Linked DNA regions of Homo sapiens: all the other regions are linked to region 4. The links are contacts of gene promoters, found by promoter capture Hi-C in blood cells and fetal thymus (Javierre and others, 2016). All regions are on one chromosome and are shown on one strand. The core of a region is centred on a gene start or on the middle of the fragment in contact, and the rest is flanking DNA. Distances in the headings are between cores, read along the strand shown.

Evidence for each region. The method cuts DNA at HindIII sites, captures the fragments that hold promoters and counts their contacts. A CHiCAGO score of 5 or more calls a contact.
Region 1: a contact is called between a fragment that was not itself captured here and the fragment with the promoter of ANKRD6 in region 4, in 1 of 17 cell types (M2 macrophages). The highest score is 5.3, in M2 macrophages.
Region 2: a fragment that was not itself captured here is called in contact with the fragment with the promoter of ANKRD6 in region 4 in 5 of 17 cell types (naive B cells, total B cells, neutrophils and 2 more); the score reaches 7.3 in naive B cells.
Region 3: a contact is called between a fragment that was not itself captured here and the fragment with the promoter of ANKRD6 in region 4, in 1 of 17 cell types (M1 macrophages). The highest score is 5.7, in M1 macrophages.

What each region holds. Positions count from the first base shown.
Region 1 is chr6:89,714,047-89,718,987 of GRCh38, forward strand. MDN1 (midasin AAA ATPase 1) reads right to left here. Exons shown (of 102, transcript NM_014611.3): 42 at 4,721-4,941; 43 at 4,320-4,581; 44 at 2,604-2,763; 45 at 1,607-1,723; 46 at 497-705. Among named protein-coding and RNA genes, the nearest start is that of LYRM2, 78 kb to the left of the region's middle. The HindIII fragment of the contact is 2,343 bases long and covers 375-2,717 here.
Region 2 is chr6:88,984,742-88,989,245 of GRCh38, forward strand. No RefSeq gene overlaps it. Among named protein-coding and RNA genes, the nearest start is that of RNGTT, 23 kb to the left of the region's middle. The HindIII fragment of the contact is 4,992 bases long and covers 1-4,501 here.
Region 3 is chr6:89,749,947-89,754,511 of GRCh38, forward strand. It overlaps MDN1 (midasin AAA ATPase 1), which reads right to left. Exons shown (of 102, transcript NM_014611.3): 21 at 4,137-4,284; 22 at 3,566-3,676; 23 at 1,485-1,636; 24 at 408-586. Among named protein-coding and RNA genes, the nearest start is that of MDN1, 68 kb to the right of the region's middle. The HindIII fragment of the contact is 4,147 bases long and covers 422-4,565 here.
Region 4 is chr6:89,431,071-89,435,513 of GRCh38, forward strand. ANKRD6 (ankyrin repeat domain 6) reads left to right here and starts at 2,082. Exons shown (of 16, transcript NM_001242809.2): 1 at 2,082-2,305. It overlaps LOC124901360 (a long non-coding RNA gene), which reads right to left. Exons shown (of 2, transcript XR_007059675.1): 1 at 2,347-4,443; 2 at 1-1,517. RefSeq lists a silencer at 1,874-2,353. The HindIII fragment of the contact is 1,573 bases long and covers 1,310-2,882 here.

The DNA of each region.
Region 1 (4,941 bases), core at 296-2,795, 280 kb after region 4:
AGAAAAAAAAAAAAAGATTAAATAAACAATCTGCATGGTACCTAACACAGAGTAGTTATCCAACAAGCAATACTTCATTTATTATCTTGTTCCTTTTTGTGTAATTGAAAGTTTAGAAAAAGTAACACCTGTCTGCTTTAAACAACTCAAAGTTTCCTCTTTATTCCAACTTCAAGAGGCTGTTGATGACCCTGGAGAAATGATGGGCAAACTTCATAAACCTCAGTGCGTAAAGTGGAATTACTCGAGGGTTAGCCTCTGCTTACTTGCATCAGAATGACATAAGAAGCGTCTTTCAGATACTGATTCCTGTGCCTTGCCCTGCCCTGCTGAACCCAATCTCTTGGGGTGTCTGGAAATCCACATTTTTAACAAGCTTTCCTGATAATTTCTATATACACTAAATGTACGAAATCTTTGATGAGCAGTCCAATGGAATGACATAAATTTCTTGAAGACTAAAACTCTGCAAAGGCCCAAAAGTCAAGCACCTCACCTACAACAGTGCTCCGGGTCTCTGTGTGTAAAGCCAAGAGGATGTCACATACACTGTTCCCCACCAATCCAAGGCTGTGCAGCAGAACTTTCAAATCCAGGTTGTCTGGGGTGCTTGCATCCCCTTCCCCTGAAATGTAGATTTCAAGTCCACGATTCCTCATAGCTCGGGATATATCTCCATGAACAGGATCCATCGAGAGGAAAAGTCTAGAAAAATAGCAATTCAAAGAAAAAAATGATTTTAAATCCCAGTGCAACCAAAGGTGTAGCTCAGCATCAGTCAGTGAGGGCAAATCCTATGTGGCTCATTGTCACAGAATTCACACCAAGGATCTTTTACTTCTAGCATGCATCAATATAGCAAAAGATTTTCTCTAAACCTACTTTCCTAAGGAACTGTGTATGATATATCCAGTGTACCTTTAGTGCTGAGAACTTTAAAAATTTAACCTTCAGATATTCCCCAGAGTAGGCTGTACTAATTCATTATTCTAACTCACCTACAGACAGCAGAACAGGAAGCAAGTGTAGTCTCCTGAAACAACTGGATTCATATATTGAATGCCCATCAACATCTCCATCTAGTTATCTTACACCTCTGATGTATGTCTGAAAGTAAACAGCTGATTCCCGGTAGACCCTCCCCACATTAAACCTGCTCCTTTACCAGTCTTCCCTTTCTCAATGAATGGCAACCCCATTTACCCAGTTACTCAAGCCAAAAACATAGGTGTCATCCTTGATTCTTCTTTTTCTCAACCCACATGTCCATCAGCAAACCAACCCATCTGACCACCCTCATCTAAGCCACTGTGATGTGTTGCCTAAATTACTGCAAAAGGATCATGACTGGTATCTCTGCTTCCCACCTTCGTCACCAATGCAAGGCAAGGACCTTGCCCCTCTTGTTTATGCTGTGTTTCCAGAGCCCAGCAATGCCTGGCAAATAGTAAAGCCTCAGTAAGTATTTGTTAAGTGAATTAATAAATGGGTGAACTTCTCCATGATTCAGTTTATAAATAAAATATATAAGGAAGTCCTACTGAACGTCTACCTCTGCTACTGAGGCTGTCAGATTCTGAGGCAGAAATGTAAGAGATACAAATACCTGAAATTGGGATTTGGTGTTATCGTGGGAGTGGATCCATCTATCATTCCTCTCTCACTAATAGTGAGGACACCTCCGGGTTCAAGCAAAGCATTCAAACGATCCAACACTGATGGGCTGCAGAGACAGAATTCAGATGGTGGATAGGCTGACATGCTGCATTGACTCTTCTTTCCTTCCATGCACGGGGCTCCAAATGCTTTTGACTCACATTTCCTTTCGGCACAATCATTCACCCAGATACAACAGTGATCTCTTTCAAAAGTAGATTCCCCATTGATTTTCCTTCTCGCTTCCCTAGGCACATAGCCCAGGGCCTTATACACAGTAAATACACAAGATATTTTTGAATAAATGAAATTAAAGAAAATGATAAGTTCCTTGCACTATAACCTTTTCACTTTTTCCTTTCCTGCCCCCCATCCCTCAACATTATCAAATCCATTTAAGGCAGCTGGATTTCAATTTGTAACATTCAGATAAATGCTCCGTGAAGAAATAGTCATCATCTAACTTGTAGTAGCTTCTATGTTAACTGTATATGTACAATAGTTTCACACTTGTCCTTTACCTTACTGCAAGATCAAGAATGATACATGGTTGAATTGCTGCATCACTGATGGCCATTTAATAAATGCCTGCCCTGTGTCAGACCCTGCATTAGAAAAAACTGCACTGAAGAAACCCTAACAAAAGGAAGACTTCTGATATTAAATTAAAAGGCCTAACTCAAAGGACATTGCCAGGAAAAATAATCCAATTTTGTTAGCCTTTGCTTTGGCTGAAAATTATCATACAGAGCTGAAATCTTATAACTGTCTGATGACGAATTACCACTGTTCACCACAGGGAGAAGTCTACAGAATATGGCTGAGGACGCTTGCGTAATTAAGAAAAACAGTAGCTTCAAAATACCAGCACTTCTATCTGGGTTTCTACTTTGACAAGCATATCCCAAATTTCAAGTTGGACCACTGATTAGGCATAAGGTTCTTACTTGCAGAAGTTAACATTGTCCATCAGAAGCCAGTCTCCAGACTTCAGGGCCTGAACCAACATGCTGTCAACCCATTCAAATGTGCCATGGCTATGGCCACTGGCCAACTGCGTAAGCTTCACACCAAAGCTTCGGAACTCTTCAACAAGTTTGGCAAACTCTGAAATGTCACAGGGAAGAATCACCATCCACAGCACTTAACTTCAAACAAAGAATTAAGTTTATGAAAAGGAAGCTTGATACTTCTAGCCAAGGTTTTTAAGATTTCATAAAAGAATAAATAGAAGAATGTTTTGCTTCTGTTTAAACACAGATAGGAAAGTTAAGTTTAAGACAGAAAATACGTTTTAATGGCTCTCTGTATTAATAGCTACTCAGGGTTGACTCTAGGGTGATAGAGGTGGCAAATGATTTTTCTGTATTACGGTTTCTCAAATGGCAGAAGGAGGACGTTTCCCACCTATCAGTGCATTTATACTAAATGAAAGTGCTATAACTTCACACAGTGCAAACTGGGCTTCCTTTATAATGAGCATATCATATGATTATAGTAATATAGTAATAACTGGTAATTACTTGCCAAATGCTTTATAGTTTATATAGCCCTTCCCTCGAAATTTTTCAGTTGATCTTTTTGGTTGGAAACTGTTTTATGACCATTTTTCATATCACAAGGTAATACACATTGGATTTCTACTTCTAAAGATGAGGGAGTAACGAGGTTTAGACTTAACATACCATAGTCCAACCACTTGCTAACTGTAAAACTGTAGGCAAGTAATTTTGTCTCTTTGAATATTCACATCCTCATCTATTAGATGTAGATAATCCTTCCTATAATGCAGTGTTGTCACGGTGATTAAAAGTACATATATTCAGTATAGTGTTTATAATAGAAATTCATAACTCAATGGTGAGTTTTACAATACCCATTTAAAAATATATGACACATGACTGCATCGGATATCTTTTATAATTAGAGTGAATGAGTAAAGGATTTCAAGTTCAAATGGCAGGCTTAAAGTGAGAAATGACAGATCAAATCAACAATGAAGAAAGTAAATGAGTGGCCCACCGCCACAGATAAAATGTTTGCTGGCCAAGAAGTGGGATGTCTGATTTCTTCGGCTATAAGGAATCAACACTTTGTAATCAGTTACAAGCAGGCTTTGGAAATAAAGAATGACAAGCATAGTGACAGACCCAGCCTGTGGGCCTTTAGGTTGAATCCTCCCTAAGAGCATGCTCACCACCACTCTGAAAGTGGCACCACAAAATGAGAGAAATTTCCATGTTAATTGGATGGCATACAGGATGATATATTTCCTCCATCTCCACACAAATGAATAAACACATCCTATGAATTCAGACTCCTATTCTTCAGTTTAAAAATGCTCAATTTCCTGAGAAATTATTGAGTAAAAAAATAGCCAGTAATAATAAAAGTTTTACATGCTGTTTTATCATTATAGGTGATTACACACAAAATAAACCATAAAGCAACGTAACCAATTTTTTTCCTATTTGATTTTTCAGGATCAACTATTCTGAATACTTTACCTCAGCTTCATTTTACTTTCTAGGTCAAACTTTCCCACAAGTTCTGATTGTTAATAATTACTAAATTAATACAAAACATTTGTAAATCTATTACGTGTAAATGGACACAATATAAGCAATGGTAAGTTCCTGATACAGAGATCCAAATATACATACCTGCCTTGCAGTATGAGTTGATTTTATTGTTGAGTCGCTGCATAAGCAATAACACTGCTTCTAGTTTGTTGACAATCTCCATCGTGATAGCTTTACCACCTTCTCCAAGACACTTAGGCTTATATGTCAGAAGAAAATGACTCCAGGCTCGCAGCACTACTTCTGCATCATCAGCACTGATAAGGAGGCTATCCCTTAACAGTGCCCTTACAGTTCCCTCCACCTTCTCTAGCAGCCTCCTCCAAGGTCGTATAAGATCAACCTGTAATTTCCAGAGGACATGAACTCATCATAGGGTCAGAGAATACTGTTATCTGTACTCATCACCAACTCAGAAGACTCTCAGTCAGACCACGGGGTTTATTATGCTTTGCCAGAAAATATGAAGGCAGACTGGTTACCTGCTCAAATCCACCCAGCAGCTCAGTAGTATCCATTGCACTGTTCATAGCCATGATCTTTAATGTGTGGCCAGTAAGGTGTGCCAGAAGCTGGACCAGGCTGGTCTTGCCCACAGAGGCTGGCCCGACCAGGATGACCATCCAGCTCATCTGCACACACTTCATGATTGACTCCAGGGGTTGGAATGACTGGTGCAGGAGCAACAGGGGATGGCGGGACG
Region 2 (4,504 bases), core at 756-3,255, 450 kb before region 4:
CTCCTGACTTTAAGTTTCAAGCACTTCTTACTGCACCACATTGCTTTCCTACTCATGGTTCAATGAGCGTATCATTTTGTGAGCAAAGAGCATGCCTAAGTTGTACATTAAAAATAGGGTGGCTAGGCGTGGTGCCTCATGCCTGTAATCCCAGCACTTTGGGAGGCCAAGGTGGGTAGATTGGCTGAGTCCAGGAGTCACAGACCCGCCTGGGCAACATGGCGAAACGCATCTCTACAAAAAAATACAAAAATTAGCTGGGCATGGTGGCGCACACCAAGATCACGCCACTGTACTCCAGCCTGGGTGACAGAGTGAGAACCTGTCTCAAAAAGAAAAGCCAGGTTGAGGGAAGAAGGAAGTGGAACGAGCTTGGGATCACCTTAGAAAAAACAAGGAAATAAGAGTAATAAATCAAGGCAAATTAATGGCCAGGGAAAATCTTAAGTTTCTGGTGACATATTTCAATACTCCAGGTTTTGGTTCTATAGAATCATAATCTCAAATATCATTGACTCACTTCTAGAATGGATATCTTAAATTGGGCCCTAGTTTTAGGCTCATATAAAGCACATTCAAGTCTAGTCCATTCAATCTATTCAAACATCTACTAAACTTTCTCTGTGTGAGGAATTTCAGGAGATACAAAGATTAAGGCACATTCTTGAACCATAAAAAGCCTATTATTAGTAGGGAGGGCTTACTTTAATTATTCATGTATTGGTTCACTTAAAAATATAGTTTAGCACCTTGCTATGTGCCAAACACTATCCTAGGTAGACAAGAACAACAATGAACAAGACAAGGGCCCTGACCTCAAGGACTTTACTTGGCCAGTATAGAATACGGGAAAAATAGTGGGGCCGCTGCCCAAGTTACCAAAGAATCACAGTGAAGGGTATCTATCCCAATCCTGAAGAGTCAAAACACAGTTCCCAGGAGGAAGGGACATTTAAGCTGGGCCAAGTTAGGGTAGGGGAAGGGCCATAAATGCAAAGGCCTAGGGGCTATGGTGAGCTGGTAAATGTTTAATAACTCTCTAGAGAGAAGCAAGAATGCCCTAATTTGTAGATTTTGCCAGTTTCCTTGATTTACTCCCACCATGACCTCACTGAACATGCAATTGGGAAGAGACATGCACCATACGCTCTCACACTCCCACACAAATCAACTCTAGAACACCACTGCTTACAGATAAAAGTATGGTACTTCTGGGCAATGTCAAGCCCATCTATAGAATGGGAACTGTGTGTGTGTGTGTGTTTGGGGCAGTGAGCAGGGGAGGGAGTGGAGGTAGAAAAGGGAATGGTGGGAGGGAAGGCTAGGGAGGGAGGGAACATGCCCACATGCCACTTTAAAGAGTTTGGACTTTATCTGGGGCTGTGCAACTTCATCAAGTAAACATGAGTCACTGAGGTAAATATGGAGTCATTGAATGGTTTTAAGGAAGGGGGTGACCTTGTTGAGAGTGATACCTATTGTTTACAGCAATAGCCTATTTTTCCCTTCTAGAGAAAGAGGATTTTGTCTGTTTTCATCCCAGCCATATCTCCAGTCCTTAGAACACAGCCTGCCATAACGTGACCTCTCCACAAGAAACAAGAGACTGCTTCCAGTGCTCTGGAGTATGAATGAGAAGTCATGAAGTCAACCTAGAGAGTGGAGACAGTGAGTGAGATAATATCTATAGCAAAGGGAGCAAGGAACTAAAGCAGCCACTGTCAGCTAACTTGAAGTCAAAGGGTTGATTCAGGGATTTTTTAATATAAAAGAAATGTGGCCAGGCATGGTGTCTCATGCCTGTAATCTCAGCACTTTGGGAGGCTGAGGCAGGAGGACTGCTTGAGCTCAAGAGTTCTAGACCAGCCTGAGCAACATGGCGAGACCCTGTCTCTATTAAAAAACAAAAATAAATAAATAAAAGAAATAAGTCAGGTGCAGTGGCTCACACCTGTAATCCCAGGACTTTGGGAAGCCAAAGCGGGTGGATCACCTGAGGTTGGGAGCTCACGACCAGCCTGACCAACATGGAGAAACCCCATCTCTACTAAAAATACAAAATTAGCCAGGCATGGTGGCGCATGCCTGTAATCCCAGCTACTCGGGAGGCTGAGGCAGGAGAATCGCCTGAACCCAGGAGGCGGAGGTTGTGGTGAGCCGAGATCATGCTATTGCACTCCAGCCTGGGCAACAAGAGCGAAACTCCATCTCAAAAAAAAAAAAAAAGAAAAGAAATAAATATAAAAGAAATTTGATTACATTTAAGTGACTATGACAAAAAGCCAGTGGAGAAAAGAGGGAATAACTGATTAAACAAACTTTACTAATGCTTTAAAAATAATATTAAATGCATTTAAATAACTATATACCACACAATTTAATTAAAAAATAAATAGAAATTTAAACTACAATTTAATTAATATAAACAAATTTAATAAGATTAAGCACATTTTATTAAGGCTAAAAAGCCATGGAATTGCTTTGAGAGCAAGATCTTTGTCTGTTTTACTCACTGCTATATCCCCGGTACCTAGAACAATACCTGGAACATAGCAGATGCTCAACAAATATTTGCTGATTGAATGAATGTATGACTGGATAAAAGTAACCATTCATTGGGCACTTACTTTGTGCCAGGATCAAATGATTTTCATGCATATTATCCTCAATTCTCACAACAGCCTTAGGAGGTAAACGATTATTTTCATTTACTAATGAGGAAAGAGAACTTTAGTGAGATTTAGAAACTTGCTCATAATCACACAGCTACTGAGTGACAGACATGGAACTTATTCCAGGTCAATCTAAATCAAAGCTATGCTTTTAAGAGCAACTGTGATTTTAAGTGTCTGGATTTTTTTTTTTTTTTTTCTGAGACAGGGTCTTGCCTGTCGCCCAGGCTGGAGCGCCGTGGCTCATTCACAGCTCACTGCAGCCTCTACCTCCTGGGCTTAAGTGATCCTCCCACCTCAGCTTCCCCAGTAGCTGGGACTACAGGTGCATGCCAATGCACCCAGCTAGCTTTTTAAATTTTTTGTAGAGACAAGGTCTCACTATGTTTCCCAGGCTGGCCTCAAACTCCTGAGCTCAAGCCATCCTCCCATCTGGGCCTCCCAAAGTGCTAGGAGTACAGACAAGAGCCACCACACCTGGCCCTAGCGTTCAAATAGTTAAATATCTGAAGCAAAAACTGAAAATATTTGAGAAAGGAAAAGGAAAACTTTTGGTTCCTTGTGTCACCAGAATACATAGAATAGAGGAGCTAATTATAGAAAGAATAGCATAGCAGTTAAGCGTGTAGCCTGTGGAGCCACATGCCTGGGTTCAAATCCTAGCTCTAATGCTCACTAGCTGTGCAACTTCATCAAGTTACTTAACCTTTCTGTGCACTGGTTCCCTCCCCTATAAAATGGAGATAATGATAGCACCTACTTCATGGGATGGTTAGGAGAACTAAATGAGTTTATACATGTAAAGCACATGGAAAAAAAACCATTTTGTGTTTGCTGTGATTGTTATAGCCTATTTTTCCCTTCTAGAGAAAGAGGATTTTGTCTGTTTTCATCCCAGCCGTATCTCCAGTCCTTATAACACAGACTGCCAAAATGGGGCTTCTCCACAAATGTTTATTTTTGTTTTTTTTTTAATGAGATAATTAGTAAAATGAATGTCCAGCATATGTGTGTGTGTGCTGCTCAGAAGATTCATTGAATCTGAAGATAAAAACATTAATTTTGCTCACAAATCATGTTATATCATACTTTTTTAAAAAATGTGATTAGCCACTATAAATCAACTAAAAATCTCTCTCTCTCTTTTTTTTTTTTTTTTTTTTTGAGATGGAGTCTCGCTCTGTCGCCCAGGCTGGAGTGTAGTGGTGCGATCTTGTCACACTGCAACCTCTGCTTCCCGAGTTCAAGCGATTCTCATGCCTCAGCCTCCCAAGAAGCTGGAATTACAGGCACATGCCACCACACCTGGCTAATCTTCATATTTTTAGTAGAGATAGGGTTTCACCATATTGGCCAAGCTGGCCTCAAACTCCTGGCCTCAAGTAATTCTCCCACCTTAGCCTCCCAAAGTGCTGGGATTATAGGTGTGAGCCACCGCACCTGGCACTGAAAGTACTTTTAAACATATGGTTGACAGTTAAGCCTTAAATTTTATGTATATCATTGTCCAAATAATATTGACCTTAGGTTAGAAGAAAACTACGTGAAAATAAAAATTGTTAAGTATTAAGATTATAGGATTGCAGTGATTTTACCCTTTTATTGGTTTTCTTCATGTATTATTATACCATCATTGTTTACATCATTCTTTCTCTTCTGATATTAAACTGAGAACAGCTGCATCTACTCTTGAGAAGGGGAAAGAAAAGACTGGAAATAGTCTAACAGTTGAACTGCATGAAATAGTTTAAAGTTGCTCTTTTAACAGCTATAAATTTTTCATAGAATAGCTCCAGCCACTCCTTGACTTGTGAAAAAATCATTTAGAAAGC
Region 3 (4,565 bases), core at 1,245-3,744, 320 kb after region 4:
TTCCCCACAGAAAAGAAGCCAAGGCTGAAAATACCTCATATTTCTTGTGTAATCTTTCCCCTGCAGTCTAATTTCATTTAAATCACCACATTCTGTTGACTATTCCCAACTTCCTTTTGGCTAACACTAACCCCATTCTCTGAATTCCTAGAAAATAAAGCAGCAGTTCAATTCCCCTCTTGAAAATTGGCCCTAGTCCTGTATACAGCCAGCAAGATTAGCAGAACCTAAAGAAAGCCAGCACCTTATGCATCACCCCTTAACTATCTTAGCTCAGGCATCAAGAAAAGCCGGCTGTTACAGCAAAGGTCCATGTGCCTCAATTGGAAAGGATGAAGAATATTACTTAAGGAAATGTGTGTGAAAGAATAAACACCTATGTCCATGGAATGGAATCTTAACCCTACCTTCCTTAAAGACAAGCTTCCCTGAGGAGTCAGACGTGTAACAACCAATGTACTCCTGAATATCCGTGTGTTCGTGATTATTAATACGCACACAGTGGTTGCCAGTAGCTGCAGCCAGCCACTGGATCAGGCTTGTTTTACCAACTGATGTCTCTCCCTGAATCAGCACTGGATAGGTTCTGTAAAAGATTAGCCAATTAAGCAACTTAAAACAACAAAAAATTACAAAGCTGAGAAACCAGAACTGAGTATTGGTTTGTTTTGTTTGACAAAGGGTTTCACTCTGTTGCCCAGGCTGAAGTATGGTGGTGCAATCATAGCTCACTGCAGCCTCGACCTCCCAGGCTCAAGTGATCCTCCCACCTCAGCCTCTTGAGTAGCTGGGACTACAGACATGCACCACCAAGCCCAGCTAAATTTTGTATTTTTTGCAGAGACAGAGTCTTGCCGTGTTGCCCAGGCTGTTCTCAAAACCCTGGGCTCAAGTGATCCGACCGCCTTGGCCTCCCACAGTGCTGGGATTACAGGCATGAGCCACTGCACCTGGCCAAGTATTATTTTGGTTTTTTTTTTTTAAAAGAATGACGACATCATTTAACAGCATCATTAAAAGAGCATTTTTTTTTCCTTTTTTTTCCCCTTTTTACATTTCTGGAAAATGCAAGAAGCAGAAGAACATTTTTATTCCTATACACTGAGAAGTATCTTTGTAAACATTATTCCTCAAAAAATACTAAGGAAAGCAATTCCAACTATGCTGGCAACATTTGTAAGAAACTGTAAGTAGAACTTTTAGCCATTTACTGAATAATCTGTGGTATTTATCAGCAAAATAACAAAAGATAACTTTAAAGATAGATAAAATCATCTGCATCCATAGTGCTCCCTCCAAAGTTGCACAACTAGAAACAAAGTTTTCTACCAGGAAAAAGTTATAGTACTGACTTTTGTAAGTAATTGTTCAGTTGGCCAATGAATAAGAATAAAGCTCTTTGAAAGTTAAGGAAGTTAGACCAAAATGTCATCAATGCCTATGCCTGTATCAAGTTCGGGGCAGCGAGAAAAAAGCCCACACACCCTGCAGAGACAACTCGGACTATATCTCTCAGGTTCAGCTTCACAGAAGATGTCAGAATGTACGTCTCATCTATTGTAGGCTCCTTGTCTCCCACCGCAATCCAGTAGCCTTCAACCTGGATAAGCCGACCTCCTTTTGGCTCTGGAATAGGCTGAAAGACACAGAAGTTCAAGGAATAACCCACAGTTGTACATTCTTTCAGAGAAGGGCATAAAGTAGGAAAACAGCCACTTGTTGAACAAGCTGTCTTGTTCTGCATACTTTCAACATTAAAACTGGATGAAATATGAACATAAAATTATGAGGAATGAGAACAAAATGGTGTTATATATTGGTTTTAAAACTGAAGTGGAGTAGGTGGGTTTGGAAAAAAGCTGAATCAAAACAAATTCCCAGAAGGTTTATGTACCAGTTCTCTTCTCTCACATATCAAAATGCCCACTCCAATTATTTTTATCAAAAACATGAATTTCATATAAACCATGTTCCCCGAAAAAGGGCCAGTGTTGTAGTAAGGAAGGAGGTTTTGCACTATTATACTCTGGATTGCCTAGAAGACATTAAAAGTAAACCTGACTTTTCAGAGCAACTAGCCCATTAAGGATAATATTGTGGATGATGGCATCACTTTGCTGAGATATGGTTTAAGTTATTAGTTTCGATTATACAAATTCCCATTTTTATAAGTAAAAAAATGGTTAAATGGTGGTCAAATCTATAACTATGGAAAAGTACTCTTCTAGAGCATTTGGTCCCCAGATTTCAAGCTACACGTCTAGGCCCTGCTTTTAAGGCCTCCTCAGTTGAGTTGAGAAGCAATAGGGGGAGGGGAGGAAGGATCTTTTTAAGTTTCTATCACACCCTGAGGCATACACACACAAAAAGACCAACTGGAAGAGACTGGTATTTGATTACAATAATGGTAAAAGCAAACCTGAGTCTTTACTCAATGTTTTTACAATTTACCGAAAGTATTTACGCATGTGTTACTTGTACGATTTTTTAAAAGGCTGAGTCCAAAGAAACTCCAAGTCCCAAGGGCTCTCTCTTCCTAATGAATAAGCAATCAACAAGTAAACAAGCCAATTTACATGTTGATTGTGAGCAAGTTTCTCTCAGCCTCTTTCAGTCCCATGCTATTCTGTAATTTCCTGCCAAATCCAAAACGGCTATTGTTTCTAACAGTGCCCCCACTACTGCCTCCTCAAAAAAGACCCAACCATCAATCAGAAGGTATAGATTATACCTAACTGTGTAGTTAAACTATGCAAATAGTGAAACTATGGTGTACCCATCCAGTGAAATGCTATGTGGCCCTTAGAAGGCATGTCACAATGAACTCTGGTACAAAAACAAAAATATATCCAAGATTCAGATAGGTTAAAAAGGAAAGCTACAGAATATTCTTATGGGCCGGGCACGGTGACTCACGCCTGTAATCCCAGCACTTTGGGAGGCCGAGGTGGACGGATCATGAGGTCAGGAGTTCGAGACCAGCCTGGCCAACATGATGGAACCCAGTCCCTACTAAAATTACAAATATTAGCTGGGCATGGTGGCATGCGCTTGTAATCCCAGCTACTCGGGAGGCTGAGACAGGAGAATCACTTCAGCCACGGAAGGGGAGAATGCCGTGAGCTGAGATTACACTACTGCATTCCAGCCTGGGCAACAGAGCAAGACTCTATCTGCAAAAAAAAACAAAACAAAACAAAACAAAAAAACAATATTCTTATAAGACAGTCCCACTTACATTAAACGCATATTACAATTTTTTACAATTTTACAATTTACCTCAATAAATCAACATATACATATCAAAATTTGGATATGTAAGAAAATAAAATATATACATTATACAATTTATCTGGAAAGATTATCCACAGTATTTAAATCTCCAAAGAGCACGCTTATTGGAAACTTTCACCATCTAAACATATGTTTCTGTAATGTTTAAACTTTTTGCAACAGATTACCTTTATAATTAAAAAGTTATGTGAAAAAAAAAAAACCAAACAGCTGAAAATTTGGTAATTCAGCCTTTCAAGTGTAACAAGTCAAAAATAACAAAAGAACATACCTGCTTCAGCAGACTCTTGACATTGCCAGGGACAATGTGTTGACAGATGAGCTTCTGAACTATTGGGTGTGATGCCCTGTCAAGCTGTGTTAAGAAACCCAAACAAAAACCCTAGAAAGAAAAGACAAATATGCATAATGCTAAATAACCTTCTGCAATACAACCAAACTTATTTCCAGAACAAAATTTAACCTCTTGGGTGATGCTGCTTCCCAACTTTTAAATATAGTAAGGTGGTAGATAAAGGGAAGGGTAGGCCAGGCACGGTGGTTCATGCCTGTAATCTCAGCACTTTGGGAGGCCAAGGCAGGAGGACAGCTTGAGCCCAGGAGTTCGAGACCAGAGTGGGAACACAGTGACACCCTGTCTCTATGTATAATTAAAAATAAAAATTTTAAAATAAAAAGTAAAATATTTAATTTAAAAGGGCAAGGTAAATCTGGTAAGAGGTATTATGGGCTGATCTGACTAACTGGAAAGCACAGGCAACCTGGCATATGCATCCCTATTCCTTCCTTCCCATGAACCCATCCATTAAGCTCATATCCAGTCAAAGAGACTTCAGAAAGACCTCATAGAGTGAGCGCTGAATGTTGCCACATGGATTGGAGGCTGCAAATCGCAGGGCCCGGCACAGAGTCCGAAGGCTGTAGTGAGGTCTATGGCCAGTGCCATCCACCAGTTTGGTCCCAGACTCTTTCCGCAAAGCTGTGTAGAAGCTACAAATAGAATAAAGGTCAGGCAATTTTATTTACTAATAAGTATCCAGTATTATCAATTCTCTACAGAAAACCCAAAGGACATTTTTTAGATCAGAAATGATCATGCACACAACTTCCTGGGGCATGCATCAAAATATCTTAGTCTCTTTTAAACCTACTTTTCACATACTCAGAGATATCTTTCAAAATAAAAAATGAACACCTATCTATTTCCTTGGGGAAACTGGGAAGTGCAATGTGCAATTCCTCTAGCAAAAAGGTACTGATAAAGAGAGGTG
Region 4 (4,443 bases), core at 832-3,331:
CCTGTAATCCCAGCACTTTGGGAGGCTGAGGCAGGTGGATCACAAGGTCAGCAGTTCGAGATCAGCCTGACCAACATGGTGAAACTCCGTCTCTACTAAAAATACAAAAAAATTAGCTGGGCGTGGTGGCAGGCGCCTGTAATCCCAGCTACTTGGGAGGCTGAGGCAGGAGAATTGCTTGAAACCGGAAGGTGGAGGTTGCAGTGAGCCGAGATTGCACCACTGCACTCTAGCCTGGGCAATAAAAGCAAAACTCCATCTCAAAAAATAAAAAGAAAGGTCATGTGTACAAACTTTGACTTTGAGGGTTATCTAGGAACTCATTAGTAACCTGCCTGGAGAGAAACCTGGAGCTACAAGCCAGCAGAGAAAGGAAATGTGTTCTTCTATCAGCTCCAGGTGTAGAGCAACAGGAATGGGGCACAAATCTGAAGAAGGGCTGGGCGCGGTGGCTCACACCTGTAATCCCAACACTTTGGGAGGCTGAGGCCGGAGGATTACTTGAGCCCAGGAGTTCAAGACCAGCCTTGACCTCCTCTGTGTTAAACATAAAAAAATTAGCTGGGCATGGTGGTGCACACTTGTAATCCCAACTATTCAGGAGGCAGAGGCAGGAGGATTGCTTGAGCCCAGGAGTTCAAGACTGCAGTGGGCTACTGCACTTCAGCCTGGGTGACACAGCAAGGCCCCATCTTAAGGGGGAAAAAAAAGTCTGGAAAAGGCCAAAGGATACTCAGAAGAGAGATTTCACATCCTGTTAGGTAAAACTGCAGCTGTGACTATGGGGTTGGGAAAATTTCAGAAGCAGTAGGAGAAAATCAAGAACTTCCCCTTCCTAGTGTGGAAACAGGCTCTTGGGATCTCTCCTGCCTAATGATCCCTGAAGGAGAGAGGGAAACAAACATCTTAAGGAAAAGGAAGAAATCATCATGTTTCTTTTCTCCTGGAAACCAGGCCTGTTTCAGAGGGAATAAGAAAAGTCGGCTGGGTGCAGTGGCTCATGCCTGTAATCCCAGCACTTTGGGAGGCCGAGGCTGGAGGATCACGAGGTCAGGAGTTCGAGACCAGCCTGACCAATATGGTGAAACCCCATCTCTACTAAAAATACAAAAATTAGCCAGGGATGGTGGCGGGCACCTGTAATCCCAGCTACTCAGGAGGCTGAGGCAGGAGAATCACTTGAACCTGGGAGGCGGAGGTTGCAGTGAGCCTAGATGGTGCCATTGCACTCCAGCCTGGGTGACAGAGTGAGACTTCGTCTCAAAAAAAAATTTTAAGCAAGAAAGAAAAAAAAATCAGATTCGTGATAAGCTTGTCCCAAAACCTCAGGTAAGATTGATAGTCCATTTTAGGGTGCTGCTTGCCTCCTCTTCCATCTCTCCGCCTTTGGAGAGCAGATACCTGTCCATGCTTCTTCAAAGGGTGGAATGAGATCCCATCCATCTTACATGTATTCAACAGTAGCTTATTGAATGCTTCCTGTGTTCAGGGAGCTCTTCTAGGTATTGAAGAAGTGGCTGTGAATGAAAATAGACAAAACCAGACTGAGATAATGGTATGTAAAGTGTGATATGAATATGGGGGTCAGGCTCGCTCAATGCTTTTGCCATTTCCATATGGGATGATTCCAACAAGATACTTATAGTCAAGCTGTTAGAAATAAAGGCTTCCTTTCCCCTCTCCAGCTACCCCAATAAATCTGGGTCATTCATCATTGTTGTTCAGTTTGTACTGAGCAGCCCCAGTTAAGTGAGCTATGGTTATATTGAAATATCCACTTGGCCACGAATTGAGTGAAGGTGGGAGGTTCCTCCTGCTAATTCTCCTCCCCTCCCAATACACTTCCTGGCAACCCCCACGCGGAAAACCTCACCCTACTATAGGCCCCCTTCCTCCCACTCTTCAGAAGGCGGTGGCCCCACCCAGGAGAGGGCTGCAGATCGGGGCCAGCCCCAGGGCCTCCGCGGTGCCACCTCTCTCTCGCGAGGGTCCCTGCCGTGCCCCGGCTCGCCGCTGGGAGGCGCTGCGGCACCGGCGTAGGAGCCGCCGGCAGGGGTGGGGCGGGGCCGGCGGGACGGGGCAGAGGGCCCTGCGGCGGCGGACGCGGCGGGCTCGGCCACAGGTAACCCGCAGGAGCCGAGAGCGCTGCCTGGCGCGCGGGCGGCTGGAGGCACGGCGCTGGGCGGCGCCGAGGCCCTGGGGCCGCCGGAGCCAGCGGGAGCCAGTCCCCGTCTTCGCCCCTCGCCCCCCACCGTGTCGCCGGCCTTGGTCCCTGCGGCGCGGACGTCCGGCGCGGGAGAGAAAGGTACCAGGCGACCTCGCCGGCTCCCTGGGACCCCCGCTTACACCGGGGTGGGCGCCTCAGGTCGGGGAGGACGCTGTCGGGGGAAGGGGGCGCTGCTCCCTCGGCACCCCAGGATCGCCGACTGCCCGCGGAGGAGACCCGGACACCGCGCCTCGCCCCCTGGCCTGCGGCCTCCGAAAACGCCCGGCGCGAGGGGGTCCCCCCGGGGCGCCTCCCTCTTCGCCTGGCATCAGTTGCCTCCCTGGAATATGGAACTTCGGGCGAGGGAGGTGGAGAACTTTCTTCTGGGGCTCGTCCCTCGTTCTCCTGCTCGCTTGCAGTTTGAAGGAAGGGCGGTGGGGGCGGGGGTCCGAGTACCCCGCGGTCTGCGGCGCGTAGGAGGGTAGGTCCCTGGCCTGCGGCCGCCTCCGAATGACCCCGTCCCTCCCCGCCCTGGACGACAGCACTAGGGTGCAGTCGCAGGAGAGGGGCCGATACCCCTCAGGAGCCCCATCGGCGAAGCCTCAGCAAGTGGCATCTCCCGGGGTCCAGAGAGTCGGCGTGCTGTCTGGTTTGGGTCCAGACATCAGCTCACCCAAGCTTATCTTGGGCTTTTAAGTGTGTTGCTTCCGGTAGATCTCGGGGACTGGAGGGGAAGTGCAGCATTATTTGTGACCCAAGAGGGACTTGAATGTCTCAAAGCTGGTCAAGAATGTTTCCCCCGCGAGGTAGCATGAGATGGGTCACGTGGTAGTAAAGAGCCACTTCGGGCCCGTGAGATGGAGTTCTGACTCCACCACTTGTTAGGTGTGTGACTTTGGAAAACCCACTTCTTTAAACCTTAGTTTTTAGAACTCTAAACTGCAGGTATTGTACATAACCTCGTAGTATTGTGTTCATGCAGTGAAGTGATGGGAATGAAATGCTTGGCATTGTACTCTTGTGTGTTAGACACCTTTTGCGAACCTGTTGGATGTTGAATTCATTCATGCTTAGGTTCTGTTAGGCCAGTGTAAGTGGAAAGAACTTGGGCAATGAAGACAAACACACCTGGGTCCAAGGTGGTCCCATCCATGGTATACTGATTGGGGGTTTCTCATCCCCAAAACACCAATAGCAGCCTTGGCGGGGTTTTTGTTGTTGTTGTTTTGAGACAGAGTTTCGCTCTGTTGCCCAGGCTGTAAGCTTTGACCTCCTTAGCTCAACCGATCTTCCCACCTCAGCCTGGGACCACCACACCTGGCTAATTTTGAATTTTTTTATTTTACTAGAGACAGAGTCTCACTGTGTTGCCTAAGCTGGTCTCGAACTCCTCCTGTCTCAGCCTCCCAAAGTGTTGGGATTACAGGTGTGAGCCACTGTACTGGTCTGCAGCCTTGTTCTTGAGTGTAGTAGGTGTGTCTATACCGATACATGTTACACTTTGTCATCTTTAGTATTTGTTTAGCATATGGTAACAAAAAATTTTTTAAAAATTAGGGATACAAATTAAAATTGGGGAGTATTTTCTGCCCTCTAGGTCATACTGGACATGGGGGAAGGGTAGAAGAGGGATGAAGAGGAATTAAAGAGACCAGAAAACAACTAGTCGCAGTGTTGGGAGGTATAAACCAATGGTAATTTTTAAAAATGTGAATTTATTAACTCCTTGTTTTTTCATGGTGGCACCAAAAATTAATCTTAGTCTCCCACTTAAACTCATCAGCCTCCCCAAAGCCTTTCCAGATAAGCATATGCTCCATGTAAAAGCAGACTGCCTGCGATCCAACTCAGCTTAGAGACAAGGCACACTTCCAACTCCCAAGGCCTCCTTCTTGTATAGAGATGCTGGTGCTGCCACTGTGAAATACATCATACACTCAGACAGTATAAACCTTAGAGTGCAATGTAAAGAATAACAATAGATCACACCCAAGTACGAGTCACCCGGCTGAAGAACTAGAACATCGCCAGGCCCCTGGAGCCCCTGAGTACCCCTCTCCATTGCCTTCCACTCACTTCTCGCCTCCCACCCAAGGAACCACTATTCTGGATGTTGTGTTAACTTTTTCCCTTGCTTATATGAAAAACCCTGAGGAAAGGAAGTTTCCCAACAAGCATTTCCACAATAACCTGGAGCATTCTTTATTTTTCTTTTTTTCTCAAGGAGCATTGTTATT